Regions from separate parts of the Homo sapiens genome. Here all the other regions are linked to region 1. Evidence: promoter capture Hi-C in 16 types of primary human blood cells and fetal thymus (Javierre and others, 2016). All regions are on one chromosome and are shown on one strand. The core of a region is centred on a gene start or on the middle of the fragment in contact, and the rest is flanking DNA. Distances in the headings are between cores, read along the strand shown. Region 1 holds the start of ZSWIM7 (zinc finger SWIM-type containing 7). Region 2 overlaps TRPV2 (transient receptor potential cation channel subfamily V member 2). Region 3 overlaps PIGL (phosphatidylinositol glycan anchor biosynthesis class L). Region 4 holds the start of CENPV (centromere protein V). Region 5 overlaps ZNF286A (zinc finger protein 286A).

Region 1 (2,700 bases), core at 1-2,500:
GAAGGCAATGGTAAGGTACCACAAGTTTTAAGAATGACTATGAGGTTTTTAGGCTGAAAAACTGATGGTAGTAAAGAGATGGCGAAAGCGTATGTTGAGGAGGCATTAAAGATCGTTTAGTTTTGGGCATGTTAAATCTGAGAGGTAGGTATGGTCCTAAAGTGCAAATGGCATGTCAGTAGCACACTACAGAATGGAAATACAAATTTGGACGTTGTTGGCATCGAGTAGGTATTTAGCTCAATGGAAGAGATGAGATAACTTGGGAAAAGAGGAGGAAAAAAAAATAGAAAAGGATGTGGAGAAAAGGAAGAATTCAGGAGGAGAACCGAACCGCATAACCAACACTAAGTTGCCATTTTCAGGCCGCTATATACGTGCGAAATTATGTCATTTCAGATAGGCTGGTTAATTGATAAAACCACTACAAAACGTTCCCGATATTTCGTTTGCATAAAGCGTGATGCCTAGGGCGCCATCTCCATTTGCACTTGACACTGCAGAGGTTTTACTGCAGGCCTTAGAGTCGGAAAAGCCTGGATGGATTCCAATCCCCTCTCGGATGACCCACCTCATTCTCGGCAATTTTACCCGCGGAGCCTCCATCCACTCTTCGGCGAGGCGGAGAGAGTAATGCGCAGCAACGCCAAGACCCCGCTCACAAAGGCTACCGCGCTCGGCCGGGCGCAGGGCCCGGAGCCGCCTCACCTTGGCTCGCTTCAGCAGCTGGATGATCTCTGCCTCGGCCTCGTCCGCCCCGTCCTCGGCAGCGGCCCCGTCGGCTCCCTGCTGCTCCTCCTCCTCTGCCGCAGCGGGCCTCGAGAACCAGGCGAGCGCTGCGGGAAGGGGCTCTGAGGTCATCGGGCCCGGCCCGCGCCCCTGTCCCCGCCCGGCCGGCCCCGCCCGGCCCGCGCCCCTCACCTGCCAGCAGCGGCAGCAGGCCTGGGCCCCGGCCGTGCGGCGCGACTCGGGATGGCGGCACCTGCACCTCGGGCCCCGGACCTCCTGCCAGCCCCGGGAGCAGGCGCGCGGAGCAGCCCCGGCACCGCCGCCCCGCGGCCCGCAGGAAGCCTCGGCCCAGGCTCCAGCTCAGGAGCCGGAACATGCTCCCGCCGCGTCCTCTGCGCACTGCAGGCCAGACGCGCTCCTGGCCCCCGACCACGCGCCGAGCGCCCTCCGGATTGGCCGGGCCCTGACGACTGAGCAGGACATCCCTGCGTCCGCACGCGCGATGACGCGCCCCGACGTCACTCCGTCTCGCCCTGCCCCGGCGGGGGGTCAGGATCCTCCACAGGTAGGCGCAGTCAGCTGGAGCGTCGCGGCGGTCCGCCGGTCGTGGAGGGCGTGTCCTGCGGCGCGATGGCCGTAGTGTTGCCGGCGGTTGTGGAGGAGCTCCTGAGCGAGATGGCGGCGGCGGTGCAGGAGAGCGCGCGAAGTACGGGACCGAGGTCGTGTGTGGCTGCGCCATGGGCGCGGGCGGGGCATCCGGGCACCGCCGGGCCGGGAGGCAGGAGGCGGGGTGTCCGGGCCTGGCCCTGCCTTTTTTCCATGTGGTTCTCTAAACCTCTTGTTCGTAAAAAGACAAAAAAACAAAACAACAAAAAAGCGAAATTGGAACAAGTAAAAGTCAAATCGATTCAGCAAATATTTACGGTACAGCGCAGTTGCAGGAGCCCCTCCGTCGGAGCGAGTAGGCCAGTGGGGACCGAAGTGCTGAGAGCTGGCCGGGTCGCTGGGAGGGGTCCCCGCCCGGGGGTGGAAGGGACGGGAGCCTACAGTGAGTGATAGAAACGTGGAGTTCTTGATTATTTTACACGAAATTTTGAATTATTAAACTTCTTTTTCTCAAATTCTGATGTTAACATTAAAGTTAATGCTTCCATACACTTTAAAAAGTAGGCCCAGCGCAGTGGCTCACTCCCGTAATCCCAGCACTTTGGGAGGCCGAGGCAGTTGGATTACCTAAGGTCAGGAGTTCGAGACCAGCCTGGCCAACATGGTGAAACTTCGTCTCTACTAAAAATACAAAAAATTAGCTGGGCGTGGTGGCGGGCGCCTGTAATTCCAGCTACTCAGGAGGCTGAGGCAGGAGAATCGCTTGAACCCGGGAGGCGGAGGTTGCCGTGAGCCGAGATCGCGCCATTGCACTCCAGCCTGGGCAACAAGAGCGAAATTCCATCTCAAAAAAAAAAAAAAAAGCATTTTAAGAGCCACAAAACCTAAATGCATATGCAATCGTTGGAGTAAATCTGGGTATTGTGAAAGCACCATTTTTTTTCTGACCAGCAGAGGGTACTCTTTGGCTATGCTCACCAAAATCACTTGAGAAGGGTTGATCTCAAGATGTGTTCAGAGTATGCTAGGATAAGATCAAATCAAATTTGATATACTCAAAATGCATTGACTAATGAACTACTCTTAGGATGTAAAAATGGCCACCTTATAAATAACAGCCATATCAGGCCCCCAAACTGCCATCGCTTATTCAACTTGGATGGCTTTTGTTTTAAAAGTACTGTACTGCATTTTGAAAGGGTTTATCTTGAGTTACTGTTTTTAAGGAACTGAGAAAAATAAGCCAACTTTGTTTCCTCATCTCAGTCAAAATTAAGGAGACTTAAGTATATGTGCTTGAAAGATTAGTGCAGCCAAGTATTCAAACATACTTGTTTCCAAAAAGGATGGGAAAAAAGCCAACTG
Region 2 (2,700 bases), core at 201-2,700, 430 kb before region 1:
TGTTGTAGGCTGCGCTGTGACACAGCCCTTCCTAACTTATTCCCCTGCTGAGTCCCCAGGCTCAGCCCAGGCCTGGCTGGGGACAGACCCTCGATAACCAATTGAATGGGCAAAGGGTGTGACTGACTGGCATCAGAGAGAGGGCAGCCAGAGGCTGGGCTGGTGGAAGCGCTAACAGCCTCAGAGGTTTCCCCTGGTTCCTGCCTGAAAGCAAGGTGTGGGTGGAAAGGAAAGGAGGGAACCACTGTTTTAAGGAGGCAATCCCTCTAAGAGGAGCTGGCATGTGGGGATCTGCAAAGGGACTATGAGGAGGTCTCTGGGTCCTGCCCCAGACTCTCCAAGGCTTTGTGGCCAAGCAGCAGAGACACACACCCCAGGGCAGAGGCTCTAGTCACCAGGCTACTCACGAGGGACACCTGCCCCTGACGGGTCCTCACACAGCGTAGGCAGCGTCTGCTCCCATGAAGCCCAGTTCACCTCCTCCACCCTGAGGGCAACAGAGCAGCTCTGAGGTTTGCCTGCTTTGACCGCCTCCCCTCCCACCCCGGAGAGGGGCGTGGCCCCCCAAATTGGGAGACTATGCAGAGATGCTCTGGTGGACACAGAGGCCCTGAGGAGGACAGGCTTTTTCTCTGCAGGGTTCTGGGCCACCCACTTGGAGCCCTGTCCTGTGAGGCAGGTGCTCACTTGCAGGAATCAGCATCCATCGCTTCTGGCTGTTCACAGCAGCCTGGGTTGCCCAGAACAACCAGAGAAGAGGAATTCAGATCAGGTGTATCTGTGCTTCCGGGTTCTGGGGCCTATCATGGCTGCTCCTCATGCCCAAGACTCCGTCTCTCTGCTCATCTGCTGCCTCACGACAGTGTCTGTTTTTTTTGTTGCTGTTGTTTTCTTTTTTTTTTTTTTTTTGAGATGGAGTCTCGCTCTGTCGCCCAGGCTGGAGTGCAGTGGTGCGATCTCAGCTCACTGCAAGCTCCGCCTCCCAGGTTCATGCCATTCTCCTGCGTCGGCCTCCTGAGTAGCTGGGACTACAGGCGCCCGCCACCACGCCCGGCTACTTTTTTGTATTTTTAGTAGAGATGGGGTTTCACTGTGTTAGCCAGGATGGTCTCGATCTCCTGACCTCGTGATTTGCCCGCCTCGGCCTCCCAAAGTGCTGGGATTACAGGCATGAGCCACTGCACCCGGCCGACAGTGTCTGTTTTTAGCTGTGTGTTTGTCACTAGGTTCCCTCTCCCAGTGTCCCAGCCTTTCCTGGACACAGAAGGGCATGTTCTCCATGGAAGGGGTTGTAGCTCAGAGATCAGGCTGGCAGAATTGGGGGTGGGGGGACACAGAGCAGCCAGGGCAATGCTAGAGTGCTAGCAACCCAAGGGTCCCTCTGACTTCTTGGCCTCCTTACCGTAACACATTTCAGGCTACAAGGAGGAGTCTGAGATCACCAGGAGGGGACCTTCAGTTTAAGCCACTGGGACAGGCAGATGGCCAGTCATGTGGCAGCCATGGCTTGTGAGATCCAGACCCCTGACCTCACCTGCTCAGGCTCAGTCCCTGGTGCTCTTTGGGCCTGCCCTTCCCACCAGACCTGGCTCCTGGCAGCTGTGCCCTGCACTGCAGGGGGGCCCCAGGGATTGCTGGACAGCAAGGCCCCCAGGAGACCCTCCCACCACTCACTCACCTGAAGCACCAGCGCTCATCGGGGCTGCCATCTGGCTTAGTGCCAACGGTCAGCATCACACCTGCCCGCTGCTTCTTCCTGCACCACCAATAGCCATTCTCCATCTCCAGGACAGAGATGGCTTTCTGGGGACAAAGGATGCATCAGACAGAACGTCCTGGGACCCTGCCTGGGGGCAAAGGCACACAAGGCAAGCGGAGCAGGGAAGTGCCGCGCAGCACTTCACAGTATAACGCGAAGTCAACTAAACACGCGGATTCGAATCTGGCTCCAACATCCGGTTACCTGTGTGGGGTTGGGCCCTCAGCCTCTCTGCATCTCAGTTTCCCCATTTGTAGACTGAGGACAAAGTGCCTCAGACAGCTGATGGGAAGTCTGTACCTTATGAGTACTGGACAGCTACTTGCTCTTACATCGTTCCAGGCTCCAGATTGCCACACCACCAGGAACAGAACTTCATTTGCTCACCCCACACATGTGCCTGCCCAGAGGCACACCAGTGAGTCAGGTGGGGCACAGAACCTTGCAGAGGAGGGCACCAAGGCTCAGAGGAGATAAGGGGCTTCCCCAAGATCAACAATGAATTGGCAGCAGGGTGGGGCATGGTGGCTCATGCCTGTAATGCCAGCACTTTGGGAGGCCGAGGCAGGTGTATCACCTGAGGTCAGGAGTTCAAGACCAGCTTGACCAACATGGTGAAACCTTATCTCTACTAAATACAAAAAATTAGTGGGGTGTGGTGGCACATGCCTGTAATCCTAGGTACTTGGGAGGCTGAGGCAGGAGAATCGCTTGAACCCAGGAGACAAAGGTGGCAGTGAGCCAAGATTGCACCATTGCACTCCAGCCCGGGCAACAAGAGCAAAACTCTTGACTCAAAAAAAAAAAAAAAAGAAACACTGGACAGCAATGATGATAAGAGTAGCTGGTAGCACATTGAGCACCTGCTTGGTGCTGGGCACTGTCCTAAGTACATCTATGAGCTTAAAGGAGGTGGGAGTAATCTCAGCACTTTGGGAGGC
Region 3 (2,700 bases), core at 20-2,519, 290 kb before region 1:
TCCCAGGAAGATAAAGAAGGAAGTATTTATCTCCATAGGCTGTTAGCTCTCTAATCTTTCAGAGTTGAGCCCGCTTGGGGACCCCCGGGCAATCGCAAGCCCTGGGGCAGACAGCAGGAGGAGCAGTGTGGGCCTGAGGCGAGAGGCTGTGAGCTGGAACCAGCCTGCGGCTTCTCGGTGCCTGCGCAGCCATGGCTGGAGAAAGGCATCTGGAGGGGTCCCCAGGGACCCACACCACCAGAGCGGGGCTCCGAGAGAATGAAATCATTGTACATTTAAGTGATCTGGACTAAGCACACACTATGTGCCAAACAGAGGGCTGAGTTTTAGGGATATAAACATGAATACAAGTCATGGTCCCTTCCCTTAGGAAGCTTAGGGCCAATGAGGCAGAGGTTCGGACTGCTGCAGGATGAGCAGTTTGCTGCGGGAAGGAGAGATGGGCAGGGGAAGAGGTGAGGAATCCAGGCAGGTTCGGGGTACCATCAGTCAGTGGCTATTGAAGCACATGAGGCACCTCATTAACATGATGGCATTGCGCGTCTGGCTCTGAGGAGAGACTACTATTTTGGAAGCTAAGAACACAACAGAAGAAGCCAACTCTTGCCAGTCTTTTAAGTGTGACTCGTAGAAGCCCGACGACTCCTTCCCTGGGGTGTATTTAGCAAACACAGTGTTAATACCTCTGGAAAAGGCCCCAAACTCGAAGTCCCGCCCTAGACCTTAATGTTCAGGAAACAAGCCAGGCTAAAAGCGTTCATTAAAATAACGTTGTGGTTTTTTCCCCCACTGGCTGAATATCCTCAAACAGTGACCTTTCCTACACATTCTAATGAGTCACACTGGCCGGCACATTTTAGTCGGGAGAGTCATGGAAACCCTTTGTGAAAATCTGTGGGGTTGTGGGTCCGTTCAGTCACCAGGTGCTGGTGAGGGAAGCCCCCCTTCTTTCCTCTCCCCAGCTAAGCAAGCCCAGGGGCCCAGGTCTTTCTCCCCCAGACCCAGCCCTGCTCAGAGCAGGAGACTTCGCAGCCTCCGCTGCTGGAACTCAAGCAGGGTTGGGTAACAGCTTATCTCTGAAAACCGAGTCCCACTTTTGCACACTGCACTCTGAACTTTAATACAGACGGAGGCGGCTCACACGCCCTTATTTGGTCTTGTGGCTTGTACAGCGCAAGCCGGAAGGTTCAGCCACCCCTCCACCCACCTCTGGCCCATCTCTAAACTCGATCATTTCCTTTGTCATCCAAAGCGAGCAAAGGTCAGTAGAGTTCAGAGCTAACCTTAAGGCTAGCCAAGGACGTGGAAGCCTAACCTGGGACTGCCAATATCGCCCCCCAAGGGCCACTGTGGGAGGCAGCAACTGTCTCCTGGTCTGAGGGCCTGGCACTAGCGTCGCTGCTCCAAATACAGGAGTGTGAAGAAATGAAGTCTAAGCTGCAGGGAGGTTGCAGCAGGGTCCAACAACTTCTGGGGGGTGTCTCTGCACCGCCAAGGACTAACCTAAGCCATACGCAGAGAAAAGAAATAGGGGAAAAGATAAGTAAGAGAAGGAAAAGGCGATCTGAGAAAAAGAAAAAGGACTGAAAAAAGAGGTATATAAAGATCAGTGCACTTTTATTAAGTATCTGCTGTGATAAGGACCTCATTTCTAAGCAGCTTAGGAGCCCAGACAGACCAAATGCCCTAAGAGAGCCTTTTCCACATACGGCTTGAAGCCCCCAAATCTAACCATAAAATGGATTTTTTTTTTTTTGGAGACAGAGCCTCACTCTGTCGCCCAGGCTGGAGAGCAGTGGCGCAACCTCTGCCGCCCGGGTTCAGGTGATTCTCCTGCTTCAGCATCCCCAGTAGCTGGGATTACAGGCACCTGCCACCGCGCCTGGCTAATTTTTGTAGTTTTAGTAGAAATGGGGTTTCACCATCTTGGCCAGGCTGGTCTTGAACTCCTGACCTCGTGATCCACCTGCCTTGGCCTCCCAAAGTGCTGGGATTACAGGCTTGAGCCACCGCGCCCGGCCTGGATTTTTCCTTTCTCATAGGATATAAAAAGGATTAGCAAGGCATGAGTGCTAGGTATTACACTGAAATCAGTTACCTGTGTTCTCCTTCCCAGAAAGATGCATTTCATATTATTGCAACAAATAAAGTACATAAAGCTTGCAAAGTCCTTGTGAGAAATCTTTCTTCAAAAATTGCCAATTTGGCCAGGTGTGGTGTCTCACCCCTGTAATCTCAGCCTTTTGGGAGGCTGAGGTGGTGGGAGGGCTGCTTGAGGCCAGGAGTTTAAGACCAGCTGGGCAACATTAGTAAGATCCTGTCTCTACAGATATATTCTTTAATTGCCAATTTGCTATCTAATGTTGTAACCACCCAGTGGGTTCACCTTGCCTGCTGCCTAGACAGAGTCGATTTATCAATACACGGGAATTGCAATAGAGAAAGAGTAATTAATTCATGCAGAGCCGGCTGTAATTAATTCATGCAGAGCCAGCTGTAATGGAGACCGGAGTATTATTATTACTCAAATCAGTCTCCCGTAGCATTCTGGAATCAGAGTTTTTAAGGACAACTTGGTAGGTTGGGGGAAGCCAGTTAGTGAGGAGTGCTGATTGGTTAAGTAGGAGATGAAATCATAGGGAATTGAAGCTGTCCTCGTGTGCTAAGTCAGTTCCTGGGTGGGGGCCACAAGATCAGATG
Region 4 (2,700 bases), core at 81-2,580, 350 kb before region 1:
AATTCGCTGGGGCGGGGGGGGGGGGGGGGGGGCGCCGCCTGTTGTTCCAGCTACTCAGCTACTCCAGAGGCCCAGGCGGCAGGATCGCTTGAGGCCAGGAGTTCTTGGCTACACTGAGCCGAGATCCCGCTACTGCACTCCAGTCTGTCAGATCCTGTATGGAAAAAAAAAAAAAAAGACAAAATAGTTAAACTATGCCTTTAATTCAATAAACTATTAAACTAACAATACCATGAAGAAAATCAGAATAAAGAAGAAAGATAGGCTGACGCAGGAGAATCGCTGGAACGGTGAGGCGGAGGTTGCGTGAACCGAGATCGCGCCACTGCACTCCAGCCTGGCGACAGAGTGAGACTCCAAAAAAGAAAAAAAAAAAAAAAAAAAAAAGAAAGATAGGCTGGGCCCGGTGGCTCAGGCCTGTAATCCCAGCGCTTTGGGAGGCCGAGGCGGATGGATCACCTGAGGTCGGGAGTATTCGGCACCAGCCTGACCAACATGGTGAAACCCCGTCTCTACTAAAAATACAAAATTAGCCGGGTGTGGTGGCGAATGCCTGTAATCCCAGCTACTCAGGAGGCTGAGGCAGGAGAATCGCTTGAACCTGGGAGGCGGAGGTTGCGGTGAGGCGAGATCGCGTCACTGCACTCCAGCCTGGGCAACAAGAGCGAAACTCGGTCTGAAAAAAGAAGAAGAAGGAGAAGGAGAAGAAGACTATCTGGGTTCCATCAACGATTCTCGTGCCTTTTGTCTTTAAACTTTGGTGCTGCCTTCATCAAAATCATACTAATGAAATTCGACGCGCGGGTCATTCATTTAATTAAAATGAAACCCCAAATCTGTTGACTATTGGTATCCTCATGACACTGTTCTATAATGTGACAGAAAAGACGAAGGTGAAGAACTATGGTTTCGGCCGCTGTTACACAGGAGGTAGCAGGTGGCAGGCCGTTTACACAAATTAGCTCGTTTTTGGAGACGAAGTTACCCCAGGCTGCCCGCTCGGATGAGCCTGCGAATTCAGGCCCAACCCAGGCCCCTCCAGGTCGGGAAGGTACGAAGAGCCCGCTGGATTCACACAGGGCAGGGGCGCCTTCGCAGGTGCGAGTGGATTCTGGGTATCGCGAGCGTAGGCCCAGGCGCAGCCCCTCTGCCTGCGGGACTGAACAGGCAGGTGCGTCCCAGCGGCCGGGCGGGCCGGGTCTCCCTCCTGCGGGCAGGCGCCGCGCTGCGGGGCGCGGCTGGCGGAGCGGGGCAGCCGGGCGCAGCGCCCCCTGGGCCTGAAGACTGGCGGGCGGCGGGGGCGCGCGCAGGCCGGCGGGGGCGCGCCGCGCTGCGAGGCCTGCGCGCCAGGCTGCGGGAGCCATGCGGCGATCGAGGAGCTCTGCGGCCGCCAAGCTGCGCGGGCAGAAGCGGTCCGGGGCCTCCGCGGCCCCCGCGGCCTCCGCGGCCGCTGCCTTGGCACCCAGCGCCACCCGCACACGGCGCTCCGCTAGCCAGGCCGGGAGCAAGAGCCAGGCGGTGGAGAAGCCGCCGTCGGAGAAGCCGCGGCTGAGGCGCTCGTCGCCGCGGGCCCAGGAGGAGGGCCCGGGGGAGCCGCCGCCGCCTGAGCTGGCGTTGCTCCCGCCACCGCCGCCGCCGCCGCCGACTCCCGCGACCCCGACGTCCTCGGCGTCCAACCTGGACCTGGGCGAGCAGCGGGAGCGCTGGGAGACGTTCCAGAAGCGGCAGAAGCTTACCTCCGAGGGTGCCGCCAAGCTCCTGCTAGACACCTTGTGAGTGCGGCGGGCCGGGGGGCGCGGGAGCCGTTGCCACGCGGACCCCCTCGGCAGGAGTCGGGCTCGCAGCCCGCGTGCAGGCCTTGGGCGCCTTTCAGCTCTGAGCCTTCCACGTTACGGAGCCGACGCGGCTCCCCCGTTAGCACTGGGGTTATTCCTTAATTCTAAGGGCGGCGGGGCGGGGCGGTGCTTCTAGGGCTGTGTGGCCTGGGAATGGAAAGGGGGCTTCGTCCGGAGCTTGAGGGCGCGCGCAGCCGTCTTGGGACACAAAGAGTCTTTCCCGGCCATAAGCATCGTGCTCGGGGACGTTGTCTCTTGCTGGCGCGCAAAGGGTGTGGGGGCCTTTCTTAGTGAAAAGAACATAAATCCCACGGCTTTCTCTTACCCGAATCCCCTTTTTTTTTGTGTTTGCACACGTGTTTTTGAGGGTGGGTGGAAGGGAAAGGTAGAAGCGTTGAAGGAAGCATGAATAGTTTTGAACTCACTGGGAAGCAAAATCCCGTCATTGTTCCAGGCACTGCCAGGGAGGGAGCAGGGGGCGGAGGTTATTGATCCGGGAGAGAAGCGCGCGCGAAGAGATGCTCCGGCCTCGCGCGGCGGCGGGGATACCTACGTAGGGAGGCTTTTATGTGCTCAGCCAGCTAATGCTCCCTGCCGCTCGCCCTCCTGGCTGCTCCGCAGTCTTTTAGATGGCCCGAGGAGCATCTCGAGTGTCCGCGATTTGGGAAAGAGCTTTTAACTGGGCTGTTAAAGGGCTGCCTTCTTTTCTCCAAATGCGATCTGGATTCCTGCCTCGGGGAACAGTTGTGCTACAGAGAGATATTTTAACGCCCTGATATTATATTTCAGTGTCAATTTTACGAATTAAAAAGAACAATCAAAACACTAGGGGGAAAAAACCGACAAGAATAACCTAGCAATTGCA
Region 5 (2,700 bases), core at 117-2,616, 290 kb after region 1:
TGTATTTGTAGTAGAGACGGGGTTTCACCATGTTGGCCAGGCTGGTCTCAAATTTCTGACCTCAGGTGATCCACCCACCTTGGCCTCCCGAAGTGCTGGGATTACAGGCGTGAGTCACCACACCCAGCTGAGAATAAAAGGGCTTTAACTGAATATGTAATATTTTTATTTCTTAAAAAATAAAAGACATCACACACCTCAAAAGGATGGCTAAAATGAAAACAAGCAATATTAAGTGTTGACAAGCATGTGGAACAACTAGAACGCACATACTCTGCTGCTAGGAATGTAATTGGTACAATGACTCTAGAAACCTCTTTGGCACTATCTACCAAAAGTGAGTATGTATCTATCCTCTGATAAAACAAGTCTACTTGTATGTATATATCCAGAAGAAATGCATATATTTGTTCACCAAAAGGCATTTAAAAAGTGTACATAGTGGCATTATTCAGACAGCTAAAAACTGGAAACTATCCAAATACTCATCTTCAGAAGAATAAACTGGGTATATTAACAAAACAAAAAATTATACAATGATAATGAATAAATTATGATGATATGCAGCAACAAAGATGTATCTCACAGCTAATGTGCAGTGAAGGAAGCCAGACACAAGAGTATATACAATATGATTCCATTTATAGAAAGTTCAAGAACCGTCAAAACTTGGTGCTATAAGTTAGGATAAGGTGACCCTTGGGAGAAGGGAGGGTCCTGAAACAGGGCACACCGGTGCTTCTAGAGGCGCTGGTAAGGCTATTTTCTTGATTTGGGCAATCGTTACATGAATGTGCTAAATTAGTGAAAATTCATCCAACTGTATAATTATTAGTTTTATATTGTAAGAAAAAGAAAGGAAGAAAGAAAAGAGGCAAACGAAGCAAAATATTAGTACGTGTCTAATCTCAGTGATGGATACATGAATGTTATTTTATTTTCTGGACTTCTGTATATATTTTAAATGCTTTAGAATTTTAAAAAAATTTAAAAATAAGGGCACACAGGCACTTTCTTAAGCACTGAAAAGTATTTCTTCATTGTCCTGCTGGGCTATCATTTATGAAGACTCCCATCTATCTGGCTCACCTGAATAGCTGCTTTTGGGGGCTTTTCTCTCAAGCTTCAATGGTTCTTTTCCATTCTCCAAGTTGTAGCTCTCAGGTTTGGAAACTGGAAGCCCTATTCATTTAAAAAAAGAAAAAGACAGAAAGAAGAAAGTAATGGGAGTAAGTTATTTGTGGAAGTTTTCTTCAAGCCAGTTGAATTGTTACATATTCCTTAGTGAATTCCAACTTTCTTTCTTTTTTTTTAATTTATAAAAATTTACTTTTTATTTTTTATTTTTAAAGTTAATGGGATCTCACTATATTGCCCAGGCAGGTCTCGAACTCCGGGGCTCAAGCTATCCTCCCACCTCTGCCTCCCTAAGTGCTGGGATTACAGGTGTGAGCCACCACGACCAACTTTCATGGCCACCGTCCTGCTGGACTTAGTTATTTGTAATGGGTATAAAGATCTAAACCGGAATATGGTCTCAACCTCTTGATCTACAAAGTATTACAGGAAGAGCTGAAGTAAGGGAGGGTGGACCTCTAAATGAAGCTTAAATATCTGCAGCAAGAGTCTGGGCCTGGTAAGGAGTTCAATTGGATTTGGAAAATACAAATATTTTCAACTGTCAGAAAAGAAAGGAATTTCTCTTTATTTCCTTATTGTGTGAGGAAACTTCAGAGAGATGTTGCAAATTAGTCCTTACCTCAGGAAAGGAGGAAAAAGCGGGACCTCAATGGCAGCACCACATAACTGTAACGGTGGTAACTGAAGTTTTATCTTCTAATGTTTTTCCTTTCCTTCTTCAGTTATTAGAAGTCACTTTCTTTTTTAATTTTTTTTTTTTTTTTAGACAGAGTCTTACAAAAAGGCTGGAGTGCAGTGGCGCAATCTCGGCTCACTGCAAGCTCCGCCTCCCGGGGTCATGCCATTCTCCTGCCTCAGCCTCCCGAGTAGCTGGGACTACAGGCGCCCGCCACCGCACCCGGCTAATTTTTTGTGTTTTTAGTAGAGATGGGGTTTCACCGTGTTAGCCAGGATGGTCTCGATCTCCTGACCTCGTGATCCACCCGCCTCGGCCTCCCAAAGTGCTGGGATTACAGGCGTGAGCCACCGCGCCCGGCCTCAGAAGTCACTTTCTTAGGGGATTTTTTTACATAAGGTTTGGGAGGGGCTAACAGTCCCCTCCACCCCTCATACAATCATATGCATGCATGTGTGTATGCGTGCATGCTAGTAAGCCCAGGATCTAAAACTGGCCACAGAGTACTCAATCTCGCTGGCTCTAGAGATTGTTTCACTGATGGGCCTGTGACCTTATTTGCTGAAACTCCCAGGAAAGAAGCATTTTCTTTTTTAGCTTTGCTATCTAACTGGAAGAATAACGTAACCCTGGGACTGCCACTGGCCATCTTTGCCACATGGGGAAATCCTAGGAATAAAGCTAATACAGAGCAAAACCAAGCTAATTGATTAAAAATAAATCAATGAATAAAGGAAATTCTTGATAATATATTTGGATCTCTGAAAAATCAAAATTTTTTTCCCCTTTAAGAGTGTGAGTTAAGTTTCTGTCACTTAAACCCAAAGAATACTGATACAAAACAAGCACAGACATTTCATCAAGAATCTAGAGCAAAAACAGAT

The links. Contacts are between HindIII fragments. The CHiCAGO score rates a contact against its expected background, and 5 or more counts as called.
Region 2: a fragment that was not itself captured here is called in contact with the fragment with the promoter of ZSWIM7 in region 1 in 2 of 17 cell types (naive CD8 T cells and fetal thymus); the score reaches 6.3 in naive CD8 T cells.
Region 3: a fragment that was not itself captured here is called in contact with the fragment with the promoter of ZSWIM7 in region 1 in 1 of 17 cell types (erythroblasts); the score reaches 6.3 in erythroblasts.
Region 4: a contact is called between the fragment with the promoter of CENPV here and the fragment with the promoter of ZSWIM7 in region 1, in 3 of 17 cell types (activated CD4 T cells, total CD4 T cells and total B cells). The highest score is 9.7, in activated CD4 T cells.
Region 5: a contact is called between a fragment that was not itself captured here and the fragment with the promoter of ZSWIM7 in region 1, in 1 of 17 cell types (activated CD4 T cells). The highest score is 5.4, in activated CD4 T cells.

What each region holds. Positions count from the first base shown.
Region 1 is chr17:15,998,254-16,000,953 of GRCh38, reverse strand. ZSWIM7 (zinc finger SWIM-type containing 7) reads left to right here and starts at 1,250. Exons shown (of 5, transcript NM_001042697.2): 1 at 1,250-1,435. The coding sequence starts at 1,360. TTC19 (tetratricopeptide repeat domain 19) reads right to left here and starts at 1,130. Exons shown (of 10, transcript NM_017775.4): 1 at 922-1,130; 2 at 709-836. The coding sequence starts at 1,105. RefSeq lists silencers at 777-1,166, 1,517-1,676 and an enhancer at 1,287-1,376. The HindIII fragment of the contact is 18,071 bases long and covers 1-2,700 here.
Region 2 is chr17:16,432,677-16,435,376 of GRCh38, reverse strand. It overlaps TRPV2 (transient receptor potential cation channel subfamily V member 2), which reads right to left. Exons shown (of 15, transcript NM_016113.5): 13 at 1,679-1,803; 14 at 408-487. Among named protein-coding and RNA genes, the nearest start is that of SNHG29, 5.0 kb to the left of the region's middle. The HindIII fragment of the contact is 9,614 bases long and covers 1-2,700 here.
Region 3 is chr17:16,284,626-16,287,325 of GRCh38, reverse strand. All of the region lies in intron 2 of PIGL (phosphatidylinositol glycan anchor biosynthesis class L), which reads right to left. Among named protein-coding and RNA genes, the nearest start is that of MIR1288, 4.0 kb to the right of the region's middle. RefSeq lists enhancers at 1,037-1,331, 1,380-1,429, 594-1,583. The HindIII fragment of the contact is 1,785 bases long and covers 377-2,161 here.
Region 4 is chr17:16,352,099-16,354,798 of GRCh38, reverse strand. CENPV (centromere protein V) reads left to right here and starts at 1,330. Exons shown (of 5, transcript NM_181716.3): 1 at 1,330-1,772. The coding sequence starts at 1,363. RefSeq lists silencers at 1,121-1,270, 1,331-1,940. The HindIII fragment of the contact is 31,801 bases long and covers 1-1,733 here.
Region 5 is chr17:15,706,637-15,709,336 of GRCh38, reverse strand. ZNF286A (zinc finger protein 286A) reads right to left here. Exons shown (of 6, transcript NM_001130842.2): 5 at 1,090-1,182. It overlaps ZNF286A-TBC1D26 (ZNF286A-TBC1D26 readthrough (NMD candidate)), which reads right to left. Exons shown (of 23, transcript NR_171000.1): 5 at 1,090-1,182. Among named protein-coding and RNA genes, the nearest start is that of ZNF286A-TBC1D26, 8.2 kb to the right of the region's middle. The HindIII fragment of the contact is 482 bases long and covers 1,126-1,607 here.